4 separate regions of the Homo sapiens genome follow, and all the other regions are linked to region 2. Evidence: promoter capture Hi-C in 16 types of primary human blood cells and fetal thymus (Javierre and others, 2016). All regions are on one chromosome and are shown on one strand. Each heading gives the region's core, a stretch centred on a gene start or on the middle of the fragment in contact. The rest is flanking DNA. Distances are from core to core; before and after follow the strand shown. Region 1 overlaps ZNF572 (zinc finger protein 572). Region 2 holds the start of TYW2 (tRNA wybutosine-synthesizing protein 2). Region 3 overlaps FAM91A1 (family with sequence similarity 91 member A1). Region 4 has its middle 33 kb from the start of FER1L6.

Region 1 (3,138 bases), core at 567-3,066, 520 kb after region 2:
GTCTCCAACTTGTACCAGCCAGCGGTTCTTAAAACTAGGCTTCAGGCAGTGCATTTTCTTTGAAGGCTTTCTGATCAAAGCACGGCCCCACTCTGATCACATTGTTGCTCTAGAACAGTGAAAACACTCCTTCCCCGTGGAGAGACATCTTAATGGCAGCCTTGTATGGTCTTGCATTTGCCACCATTTTGCTGAGCCACTGTTCCGGGGGCTCCTTTGCTGCCAAATTTAATAGTATTTTAGTAGGGAAAATGGGGGAGATGGTAATGTGTTGCCCAGACTCTTGCTGCTTTTGTAAATACTTTGATAACAATATGTAACTTAGGACAGCAAAATATATAACTCCATTCGAACAACTCCACCCCCTTCCTTTTTTTGCATTCAGGTGTATGGTTTTTTCTCCCCCCCAACTCAAACACTGGGGATATTAGTAATGTAGACTAGTTTCACGTTTCTCTAGAACAAATCCCCACTTGCTGAGTGTGCTTAGGGAATGTCGACTCACTTTGTTAACAAGGTTTAGGAATGTAGACCTCTGTTTTAAAATGCCAGTATTCTAAATATTCTAAAATAAAGGGACTCTGAGGATTCTTTGCAGTTTGGGATTATGCCCAGCTCTGCTTCCTGTTCTAGTTTACGATAATAGATCAGAGGGTGAAAAAGGTCAGCATCCAAACAGACTTGGAGCTCAGTCCTGCTCTACCACTTTCTAGGTGACCTTAGGAAAGTTTCTTAATACCTTTCAAACTCATCCTATAAAATGCTGGTAGTTGTTCATACACTTCAGAGGGCTACTGTAAGAATTAAATGACAAATGTGTGCAAATTATTTCATTCACTACCTGGCACATAATAGGCAGTAATGGTGAAGATACAATATAAGTACATATACTATTTTTTGTTTTTAAAATGTGTGCATTTGTATATCCTTTTACGTCCTTATTTTTCTCCCAAATAATGATACTCTTTATATTCTGAAATGGATGCCAAAAGTCCATATGTCACTGCCTTCCTGTGATAGATCACATTTTCTTCTTTTTCTTTTTCTTTTTTCTTTTTTTTTGTTGAGACAGAGTCTTGCTCTGTCACCCAGGCTGGAGTGGTGCAATGGCACGATCTCGGCTCACTGCAACCTCTGCCTCCTGGGTTCAAGCGATTCTCCTGCCTCAGCCCCCTGAGTAGCTGGGACCACAGGCGCCCGCCACCACACCCGGCTAATTTTTTGTATTTTTAGTAGAGATGGGGTTTCACCGCATTAGCCAGGATGGAACATTTTCTAGTCCCTTAAAATAGGTTAGTGATTGTTGGCTCCAGAAGACGAAGTTTAGGCTGAAATGGATATTGTGAATATGATAGACTTAGGAACTAAGTGCAAGGAGGAAGAGGTCCCTCTTTAGCCTCCTTTTTATATTGCAGGGTTATTGGCTATAATTATTCCACCTCGGCTTTGTCCTAATTTCTCTTTACTGGTTATATAAATCCTAACTTTCCTTTGAAATTGACTTCAAAGGTTTCCTTCTGTCAAGACCAAGTTATTCTTTTGAAACTAAACAGGGTGCTTTTTTTCTTTAGCTGCTGCTTATGCCTTCATATTGATTCCTTGAAGTCTTTATAAGTTTTATTATTGGTGTCTTAAAAAAAATACTTTGCTTTTTAAAGTAAAAGTGTTTCTAAGCTACGTGTGGACAATGAGGATTAGTATTCTGTCTTTGAAGCTTGATCCTCAGACCTTTAATGTGAAGATTTACTTTTTTGCATTGTTATTTCAGGGTTAACCCTTAATTCTAAACACTTAGATCTGAGATAAGATTTTCTAAAAGGGCTGCTAAAAGTTGTGTTTCTTATTTTCGGTATGGTTCATGGAACATTCTATGCCTCCTATTGTTGTGTTGGAATGGTTGGGAAGGAAGGAGGAAGAATAAGCTTTAACAAATACCTCCAAACATAATTTATTTCCTTCCACAGGGTTTCTGATCTCTAACTTGGCTGTGATCATTGTGATGGAGCAAGAAAAAAAACTGTTGGTCTCAGATTCTAACAGCTTTATGGAGAGGGAGAGTTTGAAAAGCCCTTTCACAGGTGAGGGATCAAGACGATGATCTGAATCCTTAGGAAATTTGATGTAGAAAGAACAGGACACTAGAATGAGACAAACCTTAATTTAATTCCTTGTTCTGTCACTTATAAGCTGTGTTAATTATTTCAGCCTCATTGTTCTCATCTTTAAGAAAATGAATAATATCTATTTCACATATATTTTAGAATTAGTGAGATACCGTATCCAAAGCTACTGTTCTTAATAAATAGTGGCTATTGTTATTTCTATAGCATTTGCTCAGATTTTAGCAAAGCTATTGTCTAGTTTTTACCTGAGATGGTATCCTGTTCAATTTAACTTCTATTCACATCAATCCTGTTTTTTCTCTTAAGTCTTCTAGAACAAAACCTAATGCATTTATTTTTAGATTGATGTTCCCTTTGCCAATAATGATTCAAATAATTCATTATTGTTGTTGCTAGGTACAAAAAAAAATCCACCTGCTTCTGGTAAACAGAGGAAAAGAAGTAAAACTGTCTTTAAAAACTTTTTTATATGAAATTATTTATGAGGTTTTACAGTGTTATTTCCTCTCTTCCACTGCAATTTAGAATTTACTTCTCTGGCAGAGATTTGGAATATGGTTAGAATATTTGTTTATTCTTGCAGGAGATACAAGTATGAATAATTTGGAAACTGTTCACCACAATAATTCTAAGGCAGATAAACTTAAAGAGAAACCTTCAGAATGGTCTAAAAGACATAGACCACAACATTATAAGCATGAGGATGCAAAAGAAATGCCACTGACATGGGTTCAAGATGAGATTTGGTGTCATGATTCCTATGAGAGTGATGGCAAGTCAGAGAATTGGGGAAATTTTATAGCTAAAGAGGAGGAAAAACCCAATCACCAGGAATGGGACTCAGGAGAACATACCAATGCCTGTGTCCAGCAGAATTCATCCTTTGTAGACAGACCCTATAAATGTTCCGAATGTTGGAAAAGCTTCAGTAATAGTTCTCATTTGCGTACTCACCAGAGGACCCACTCAGGAGAAAAGCCTTATAAATGCTCTGAGTGTGCAAAATGTTTTTGTA
Region 2 (2,904 bases), core at 1-2,500:
TTATATCCAACTATTTGATTTAGTCTATATGGAATTCCCCTTTGTCTTCTTTAGGAATATCAAAGCATTTCAACAGGTATTTAGTACCTGTGAGCTAGCCAACTTGTTACTTTGTATCTTTTTAAGTATCTACTCTTTACTAGTTATTGTCTAAGACACTATAATGTCTCTACTCACTATAGCAATCTTCTGAAGATTAGATTCCATTTTATAAGTGAAGATTCCAATTTTGAGGGGTGATACGATTTACTGGAACTCAGATCCTTCTGACTTTCAAATAGTTGTTTCTTGGACCAAAGGACAATGAAACAGTGATGACTATATCTGCATGAAAAGGGAAAAAGGGAGCTGTATCTGACTCTTCACTTTCAGAAAATAAGGTGGCTGCTGATGCTAACCTGAGAGCAGCATTAGGCTATGGGAAAGCTTTCTCCAAATTCAGATCATCATTTTGTTACAGGAAAGGGGTCCCAATGCAGACTACAACATGGGGTTCTTGGATCTCATGCAAGAAAGAATTCAGGGCAAGTCCGCAGTGCAAAGTGAAAGCAAGTTTATTAAGAAAGTAAAGGAATAAAAGAATGGCTATTCCATAGACAGAGCAGCCATGAGGGCTGCTGGTTGCCCATTTTTATGGTTATTTCCAGATGATATGCTAAACGAGGGGTGGATTATTCATGCCTCCCCTTTTTAGACCATATAGGGTAACTTCCTGACGTTGCCATGGCATTTGTAAACTGTCATGGCGCTGGTGGGAGTGTAGCAGTGAGCACCACCAGAGGTCACTCTCGTGGCCATTTTAGTTTTGGTGGATTTTGGCCGCTCCTTCACTGCAACCTGTTTTATCAGCAAGGTCTTTTTGACCTGTATTTTATGCTGACTTCCTATCTCATCTGGCGACTTAGAGTGCCTTAACCGTCTAGGAATGCAGCCCAGTAGGTTTCAGCCTCATTTTACCCAGCTCCTATTTAAGATGGAGTTGCTCTGGTTCATGCGCCTCTGACAATTTCATGTTAATTTTTCTCTTTGAATTCATGAGCAGCACTGAAGAGAGTGCATGAGGTTTCTGGAAAATAGCAATTTGAAGTCTTTTAGTCCATAAGATTCCCTGTTATAAATGTCTTCCTAGGCTGAAAAAAAAGTAATGGTTGACCATAAAAAAGATGGCGGCCGCAGCTTCTCCACAGCAACGGCAACGCCATTCTCAAGCAAGCGCATCAATATATTTAGTTCCGGCCTCTTTGCACGTCATTTCCGGCACCGGCATGGCCGGGTGAGCTGCAGGCTACCTTATTTAAGACCGGGAATTTAGTCAGCCTGGTGAGCCGACTCTGAGGAGATGGAGTATCGCTGAGGTGATGAGAGAGAATGTGGTTGTTAGCAACATGGAGAGAGAAAGTGGGAAGCCCGTGGCTGTTGTCGCAGTTGTGACTGAGCCTTGGTTTACCCAGCGATACAGAGAATATCTCCAGAGGCAGAAACTCTTTGATACACAGCACCGTGTGGAAAAGATGCCGGATGGCTCGGTGGCGCTACCGGTGCTGGGAGAGACGCTTCCAGAGCAGCACCTGCAGGAGCTGAGGAATCGTGTTGCCCCAGGCAGTCCCTGTATGCTCACGCAGCTCCCGGATCCTGTTCCTTCGAAGAGGGCCCAGGGTTGTTCACCTGCCCAAAAATTGTGTCTTGAGGTGAGTCGCTGGGTGGAGGGTCGGGGAGTCAAGTGGTCAGCCGAGTTGGAGGCTGATTTGCCCCGATCATGGCAACGGCATGGTAATCTCTTGTTGCTGAGTGAAGACTGTTTCCAAGCCAAGCAGTGGAAAAATCTGGGACCGGAACTCTGGGAGACCGTTGCCTTGGCACTTGGCGTCCAGCGTTTGGCAAAACGAGGGCGGGTATCACCGGATGGTACTCGAACTCCAGCAGTGACACTGCTGCTGGGTGACCATGGCTGGGTAGAGCATGTGGATAATGGTATCCGTTATAAGTTTGACGTGACCCAGTGTATGTTCTCCTTTGGAAACATCACTGAGAAGCTTCGAGTGGCATCGTTGTCCTGTGCTGGAGAAGTGCTGGTGGATCTCTATGCAGGGATTGGTTATTTTACATTGCCTTTCCTAGTTCATGCTGGTGCTGCCTTCGTCCATGCTTGTGAGTGGAATCCCCATGCTGTAGTTGCTCTGAGAAATAACCTTGAGATCAATGGAGTAGCAGATCGGTGCCAAATACACTTTGGAGATAACAGAAAACTGAAGCTCTCAAATATTGCAGATAGGGTGATCCTGGGGCTGATTCCCAGCTCTGAAGAAGGCTGGCCCATTGCCTGCCAAGTGTTAAGGCAGGATGCTGGAGGCATTTTGCATATCCACCAAAATGTGGAATCTTTCCCAGGGAAGAATCTTCAGGCTCTTGGAGTCAGCAAAGTAGAGAAAGAGCATTGGCTGTATCCTCAGCAAATTACCACCAACCAATGGAAAAATGGAGCTACCAGGGATTCTAGGGGAAAAATGCTGTCACCAGCCACCAAGCCAGAGTGGCAAAGGTGGGCAGAATCTGCAGAAACTCGAATCGCCACTCTTCTTCAGCAGGTGCATGGGAAACCATGGAAGACACAAATTCTGCACATCCAACCAGTGAAATCCTATGCTCCCCATGTGGATCACATAGTCCTGGATCTGGAATGCTGCCCCTGTCCTTCAGTTGGCTAGAGGAGGTAGATCCTGGGACACATGGGATCCACGTGCGAGTGGCCCTTAAATGTATCAGTTCAGTCCAGGTTGTCATCCCTTTTGTCCCCTGGTGATCAGTTTTTTTCATATTTTATAGCCCTGAAAGCAGGCTCTAGATCAATTCAAATTATTTCATTTGTCTTTCATTGATAACAGAAAATGAAATACCTGTTTGGGA
Region 3 (3,178 bases), core at 174-2,673, 660 kb before region 2:
GGGCTTGGTAACTGAACCTTACTCTTTTTTAGAAAAGAAATTCTCTGCCGGGTGTGGTGGCTCATGCCTGTATTCCCAGCACTTTGGGAGCTCGAGGCAGGCGGTTCACTTGAGGTCAGGAGTTCAACACCAGCATGGCCAACATGGTGAAAACTCGTGTTTACTAAAGATATAAAAATTAGCCAAGTGTGGTGGCAGGCACCTGTAATCTTAGCTGCTCGGGAGGCTGAGGCAGGAGAATTGCTTGAACCTGGGAGGCTGAGGTTGCAGTGAGCTGAAATGACACCACTGCACTCCAGCCTGGGTGACAGACTGAGACTCCGTCTCAGAAGAAAAAAAAGAAATCCTCTAGTATTGGTGTTTTAAGCGTCTTGTTTGAGGAAAAAGAATTTTCTTTTTATGTCACTAATAATTTATACTTTGAGTATATCATGTAGTACTTGTTATCTACTATAAAGCAAAAGCATTGTGATATTATACAAGCAAACTCTGTTATACATGGAACTAGTGTCTTAGTCCTAGGAGTCCTTAATCCCTTGGTTTTAAATAGCACGGCGTACTGTTTATAAATAAAAGTCATGCGTGGTCTGTTTTTTTCTCGTTTTCTAAGCATGATTTTTTTCCCCCAGGTATCTTTGTCTTTAAAAGGACATTGTTTAACTGTGATTAGTATAAGTCAGACATAAAAACCACTGTTTATAATTTGGCATTCTAGTACTGTGGAAATGTTTAGGAATTAAACCACATTTGTAGGAAAGCAATCACAGTTGTCAAGCTATTAGAAACGTGTTCTAACCACCATGAACTCTTTAGACTTCCTACTTTCCCTGTTGTAGTATACATTAAATATTATCTATACTTGACATTGATAATGTTGAATTTTGCCTGAGGGTTAAGACGTCCCTTCACTCTTTTGTGTTTTGGGAAGGGGCTTAGTGCAAGGACCCACTTTTTCCCCGTATGACTTAGATAAGATTCACAGGTGAATTCCCCACTCCCTTCTGTTCACCTATGACAAGGTCAGAAACAGATCCACCAAATTCCCTTTCTTTGCCTCATAAGCAGTGAGTTGAACTGCCTGTTCTGAATTATCAATCAGAACAAAATGCTTGTTAGCCAAAGCTTGTTTAAGCTTCTCTCCTTCTTCCAGCCCCATGAACTTTGACTCACCCTCAACCTAAGCCAGGATGTAGCCCTTCCTTTAGGACCCCTCCCAGAAAATATGCTGACGTTATGGTTAAACATTCTGTGATCTGCTATCCTATACCTCACCCTGTCATCCTACTTCCTCACACCCCATGCTTTCCATCTACCCTTCATTGGTGATGTTAATTTTGATCACCCAGTTAATGCATTGTCTGATTTTTCCACTGTATAGTCAACTATTTTTTTTCTCTCACAACTGATAAGCAATTGGTGGGGAGATACTTTGAGACCATGCAGATATCCCACTCCTCATCAGTGTTTCCTCCTAGATTTAGAATCCATTGGTGGTTCTTGCCTGAACCATTCTGTACTTTGATGGTTGGAAATTGGTAATTTTTCCCCCACTTGAGCAGTTCTGCCATATTTAGCAGTTGTGACCAGGCATTCTCTCGTATTCTCTGTATGAATTTATGAATTCTTATCTTTTCAGTAGTCTGCGATTAGTCATTATTGTCTCTCAATTATTTTCGTGCCCCAGTTTTCTCAGATTTTGCCATGAGGATTTCCTTTAAGCTTGCTCCTGTCTCCTTTCTCCTTATGACATGCCTCCAGGTTTCTCCGCTAAGCAATTCTTTACTTTCTGGCCAAGCAATAGCATCTTATTGTGTATTTATTCTGCCTCAGTCCTGGAATCAGCCATTTGTCCTAGGAGCCTAATGTCTTTTACTGGGGATTGCTATTAGAGACCAAGATACTGGTGTTAGTTGTGCTCATTGCTTCTAGGCATTTTCAGGAGGCCATTATATGTATATATGTATATTTTTAGATGTATTCTTGCTTGAAGGAGGATATAGCTACCTTGCTCTTCTGAAGTTTCTTTTAACGTTAAATATCTCTTTTTAGAGAGCAATAGGATTTCGTATTGTTCAAAAGGATTAAGAATAAGAATGCTTAAAATCTGTTGTATGTTGAGTGAGTTCATGCTCTACGGACCAGAAATCTAGGGTACACATTTCCAAATGAGGAGCTCTTGCCCTTATACTAAAATGAGGACTTGGCTATGATTCTCTTTGTAGAGATCGGAAACTGGAGGAGAGAAGCACATAGCTTCTCCTGACACTTTGGCTTTCGTTATACAGTTGACAAGTGAACAACGTGGCTATGAATTGCACAGGTCCACTTATGGGATAATTTTTATGAGTAAACGTTTTGGAACATTTTTTTGGAAATTTGTGACAACTTGAAAAAACTTGCAGACAAATCTCATAGCCTAGAAATGTCAAAGAAGTTAAGGAAAAGTTACATAGGTCATGTATGCATAAAATATATGTAGATACTAGTCTATTTTATCATTTATTATCATAAAATATATACAGATCCATTATAAAACATTCAAACATATCAAAACTTAATGCACACATTTACAGATCACACAGTGACATTGCAGTTGAGAGAAATGTAAATAAATGGAAAGATATAGTATTAAGCTATAACTGCATAGAATTACCTGTAGTACATATGGTACTACTGTAATAATTTTGTAGGTATCTCTTGTTGCTATTGTGGTGAGCTCAAGTGTTGTATCTACTTGAGTACCTGCTTAAAATGCCCTGTGACGCTGATCATCTCTGAGTGAGCAATTTGTCTTTACGTTAAATTGCCTATTGCAGTTAAAAGTGATCACTCATGGTTCTCTCATATTTTTCATTGATTTAGTGCAGTACCATAAACCTCAAATAACACTAGGGGAGCCATACAGAGAGCCACTAGTGATGCTGGAAATTCTCCCAAGAAGCGGAGAAAAGTAACATTACAAGAAAAAGTTGAATTGCGTGGTATGTACTGCAGATTGAGATCTGCAGCTGCAGTTGCCCATCATTTCAAGATAGGTAAATCCAGTGTAAAAGACGATTGTTAAATAAGAGAAGGAAACTTATGAAGCTGTTTTTACATCTGTGCCAACAGGCATGAAAACATTGCGCTTTTTGCAAAATACTTTCTTTTTCTCATATTGAAAATGCAGCTTTTATGT
Region 4 (2,940 bases), core at 34-2,533, 630 kb before region 2:
TAAACAATGCAGAATCATTTTTAACTCTGAATTTCTGGAAGCAATAGTCTCCCAGGACATAAACAGCACAAGTATCCCCACCAAACCATTATTAGGCATGTAACATTGGAATTAGTAGCTAATGAAATTAGGCAAAAGAATAAGAGGTAGTCACATTTAAAAGGATGGGGAAAAATTATAATTTTTCAGATACTTATATACTAGGAAGATGCAAAAGTTACCTGAAACATTAGAAACAGACTTCAGTAAGTAGCTTTCTTATCTGTAATCAACAACCAGTTATATTGATATAAGGAAAGAAAAGAGCTACCTTAGTAGCAAAAATTATGTATAAATATAAAGTAAAAGATCTTTCTTAATACTAAGAACAAAAACCTCAATAAATATGTACCCATGCATAAATATAAAATAAAGTGAAATACTGGATGTCTTAGTTTGTTCAGTTTAGTTCAGGTAGACAAAAGTCCACAGCTGCTTAGAAGCAACAAACATTTCTCTCTCACAGTTCTGGAGGCTAGGAAGTCCATGGTCAAGGCTCTGGCAGAGTCTGAAACAAGAGGGTCCTGTTTCCCAGTTCATAGGTGGCCATCTCCTCAATGTGTCCTCACGGGGTGGAGGGGTCAAATGAGCTCCCTCAAGCCTCTTTCCTAAGAGCACCCATCTCACTCATTAGAGCTCTGCCCTCATGACCTAATCACCTTCTGAAGGCCCCACCTCCTAATACCATCAAGTTGAGGGTTACAGTTTCAACATATGAATTTTGGGGGGACACAGTCGGATCACAGCACCTGACAAGAAGCTTAGTGAGAAATTTGCAAGATACCCTTGAGGAACACCTTAAAGCACTCCTGAAGGACAGAAAAGAAAACCTGAATGTACGGAAAATCATAACTGTTCTTGGATAGGCAGCCTCAATATTGTCAAGTTACCAATTCCCCCTAAATATATTATGAATTAAGCACAATTTCCTTCAGAATACCAGTGAGTTTTTGTTTTGTTTTGTTTTCGTCTTTAAATTTTGGAACTTGGCAAAGTGATTCTAAAGCTGAACCTGGAAGAAGAAACAGTGGAGACTTAAAGGTAAAAAAATCTAAAAATATCTATCCCAGCAGGCGTAATCAAATGTATTATAAGCCTAAAGTAATTAAACAGTATGGTACTAATTCAGATACAGACAGATTATTCAGATACAGACAGAAAACTAAAAAATAGAACTTAATACACAAGAATCTGAATGTGGCATTTCAGATTAGTATCCAGGAATGTCCGTGGATCATTTAGTAACTGATTTGGGGATAACTGGCAGATATTTGGAAAAAATATAGGGGGGCGGAATTCTGCCTCAATCCTCATACCAAAAACTTAAGAGGGATCAAGGTTTAAATATTTTAAAATATTAACATAAAAGTGGAAACAGGTGATTTTTTTTCCATACATTTGGCATAAAGACTTTTTAAAGGATGACACCAATCCCAGAAGATTTAAAAGAAAACTGGTAATTATTACTAAATAAAAATGAAACCTCCTGCCTGCCAGAACTCTATAAACTGAGTCAGAAGAAAATCTTAAACCTGAGATAAAATATTTTCTAGATATGACAAGGACTAATTTTCTTCCTGTCACGGGTCGGGTTCTCCAGGAAGCAAATGTTGAGACAGAGTTAAGAGTGTGGGAGGTTTGCTGGGGAGTAGCGCCTGGGAAGGAAGAGGGAAGGAGCAGAGTCTGCAGGGAGAGCCGTGGGACCAGGGTGTGGACCTGCCACACCAATAAGCTTCCTACTAGGATGGCCTGTGAGGGGAGTCCTGTCCTGGGCAGAATGACTGGGCTCTGGACACTCAGGGCTCCCTAAGGAAAGCATAGGCTCGCCACCTTCCTTCCCTCCTCTTTCCTCGGGGGACAGCAGCTCCACTCTCAGAGGAAACCACTGGCACTGGGGTGGTGGATGTGCTTGATGGAGCATCGGGGATCAGAGGGTGGGCATGCCTGTGGGCTGTCTCTACCTTCCACTTGGCCATCTCTGTCTTCCGCTTGGACATAGAGTGTCCATCTCGTTACTACTCTCTTTGGATCCTCTTCCCTCTGGCTCAGTCATTGGCTGGGAACTACCCTGAGAAGACCGGCCCAGGCTGGAAAGCCGAAGCCAACCCTGAAGGAATGAACAGTGGAAAGTTGCCAGATAACCACCCTTGTTGCTGCAGGATGGTGAGTCTGGTCTTGAATAGAGATCTAAGGAGCACATCTCTATGTCCACTACACTCACTATACAAACACCCCTTATAAGTAAAAAAGACAAGCCAGACTCTAGAAAAATAGGAAAAATACATGAATAGGTAGTTCATAGAAAATAATTAATGGCCAACATAAAACGATAACTTATAAAAGAAATTAAAACTACTGTGAGGTAGTGTTTCCCACCTGACAGACTGACAAAAATGAAAAAGATTGTTAATACCTAGGTCTGGTGACAACCTTGGAAAGCATGGATTTCATATGCAACATTAATTGGAGGGCAAATTACAGCTTTTTTGGGGAAGGAAATTTGACAATATCAGAATTTAAGGTGTACTATATATTCTTTGATACAACGATATGCCCCCTGGGAATATGACCTTTGCATGTATGTGTATATTTGTGTAGGAAGATGTTTATTGCAGTTTTGTTTATAACAGAAAAAAAACAACCAAAAGAAAAAGGCCACTTTTTTTTTTTTTTTTTTTTGAGACAGAGTCTCACTCTATTGCCCAGGCTGGAGTGCAGTGACACGATCTCGGCTCACTGCAACCTCCGCCTCCTGGGTTCAAGAGATTCTCCTGCCTCAGCTTTCCTAGTAGCTTGGATTACAGGCGTGCGCAGCTAATTTTTTTGTATTTTTGGTAGAGACATGATTTCACCATATTGGCCAGGCTGGTCTCGAACTCCTGACCATAAGTGATCCGCCTG

The links. The method cuts DNA at HindIII sites, captures the fragments that hold promoters and counts their contacts. A CHiCAGO score of 5 or more calls a contact.
Region 1: a fragment that was not itself captured here is called in contact with the fragment with the promoter of TYW2 in region 2 in 2 of 17 cell types (total B cells and non-activated CD4 T cells); the score reaches 5.9 in total B cells.
Region 3: a contact is called between a fragment that was not itself captured here and the fragment with the promoter of TYW2 in region 2, in 1 of 17 cell types (M1 macrophages). The highest score is 5.9, in M1 macrophages.
Region 4: a contact is called between a fragment that was not itself captured here and the fragment with the promoter of TYW2 in region 2, in 1 of 17 cell types (M1 macrophages). The highest score is 5.8, in M1 macrophages.

What each region holds. Positions count from the first base shown.
Region 1 is chr8:124,973,642-124,976,779 of GRCh38, forward strand. It overlaps ZNF572 (zinc finger protein 572), which reads left to right. Exons shown (of 3, transcript NM_152412.3): 2 at 1,965-2,078; 3 at 2,707-3,138. The coding sequence starts at 2,000. Among named protein-coding and RNA genes, the nearest start is that of ZNF572, 1.9 kb to the left of the region's middle. The HindIII fragment of the contact is 208 bases long and covers 1,713-1,920 here.
Region 2 is chr8:124,449,570-124,452,473 of GRCh38, forward strand. It overlaps TYW2 (tRNA wybutosine-synthesizing protein 2), which reads left to right and starts at 1,251. Exons shown (of 1, transcript NM_017956.4): 1 at 1,251-2,904. The coding sequence starts at 1,359. The coding sequence ends at 2,705. The HindIII fragment of the contact is 1,607 bases long and covers 425-2,031 here.
Region 3 is chr8:123,791,848-123,795,025 of GRCh38, forward strand. All of the region lies in intron 15 of FAM91A1 (family with sequence similarity 91 member A1), which reads left to right. Among named protein-coding and RNA genes, the nearest start is that of FAM91A1, 25 kb to the left of the region's middle. The HindIII fragment of the contact is 587 bases long and covers 1,131-1,717 here.
Region 4 is chr8:123,817,574-123,820,513 of GRCh38, forward strand. No RefSeq gene overlaps it. Among named protein-coding and RNA genes, the nearest start is that of FER1L6, 33 kb to the right of the region's middle. The HindIII fragment of the contact is 972 bases long and covers 798-1,769 here.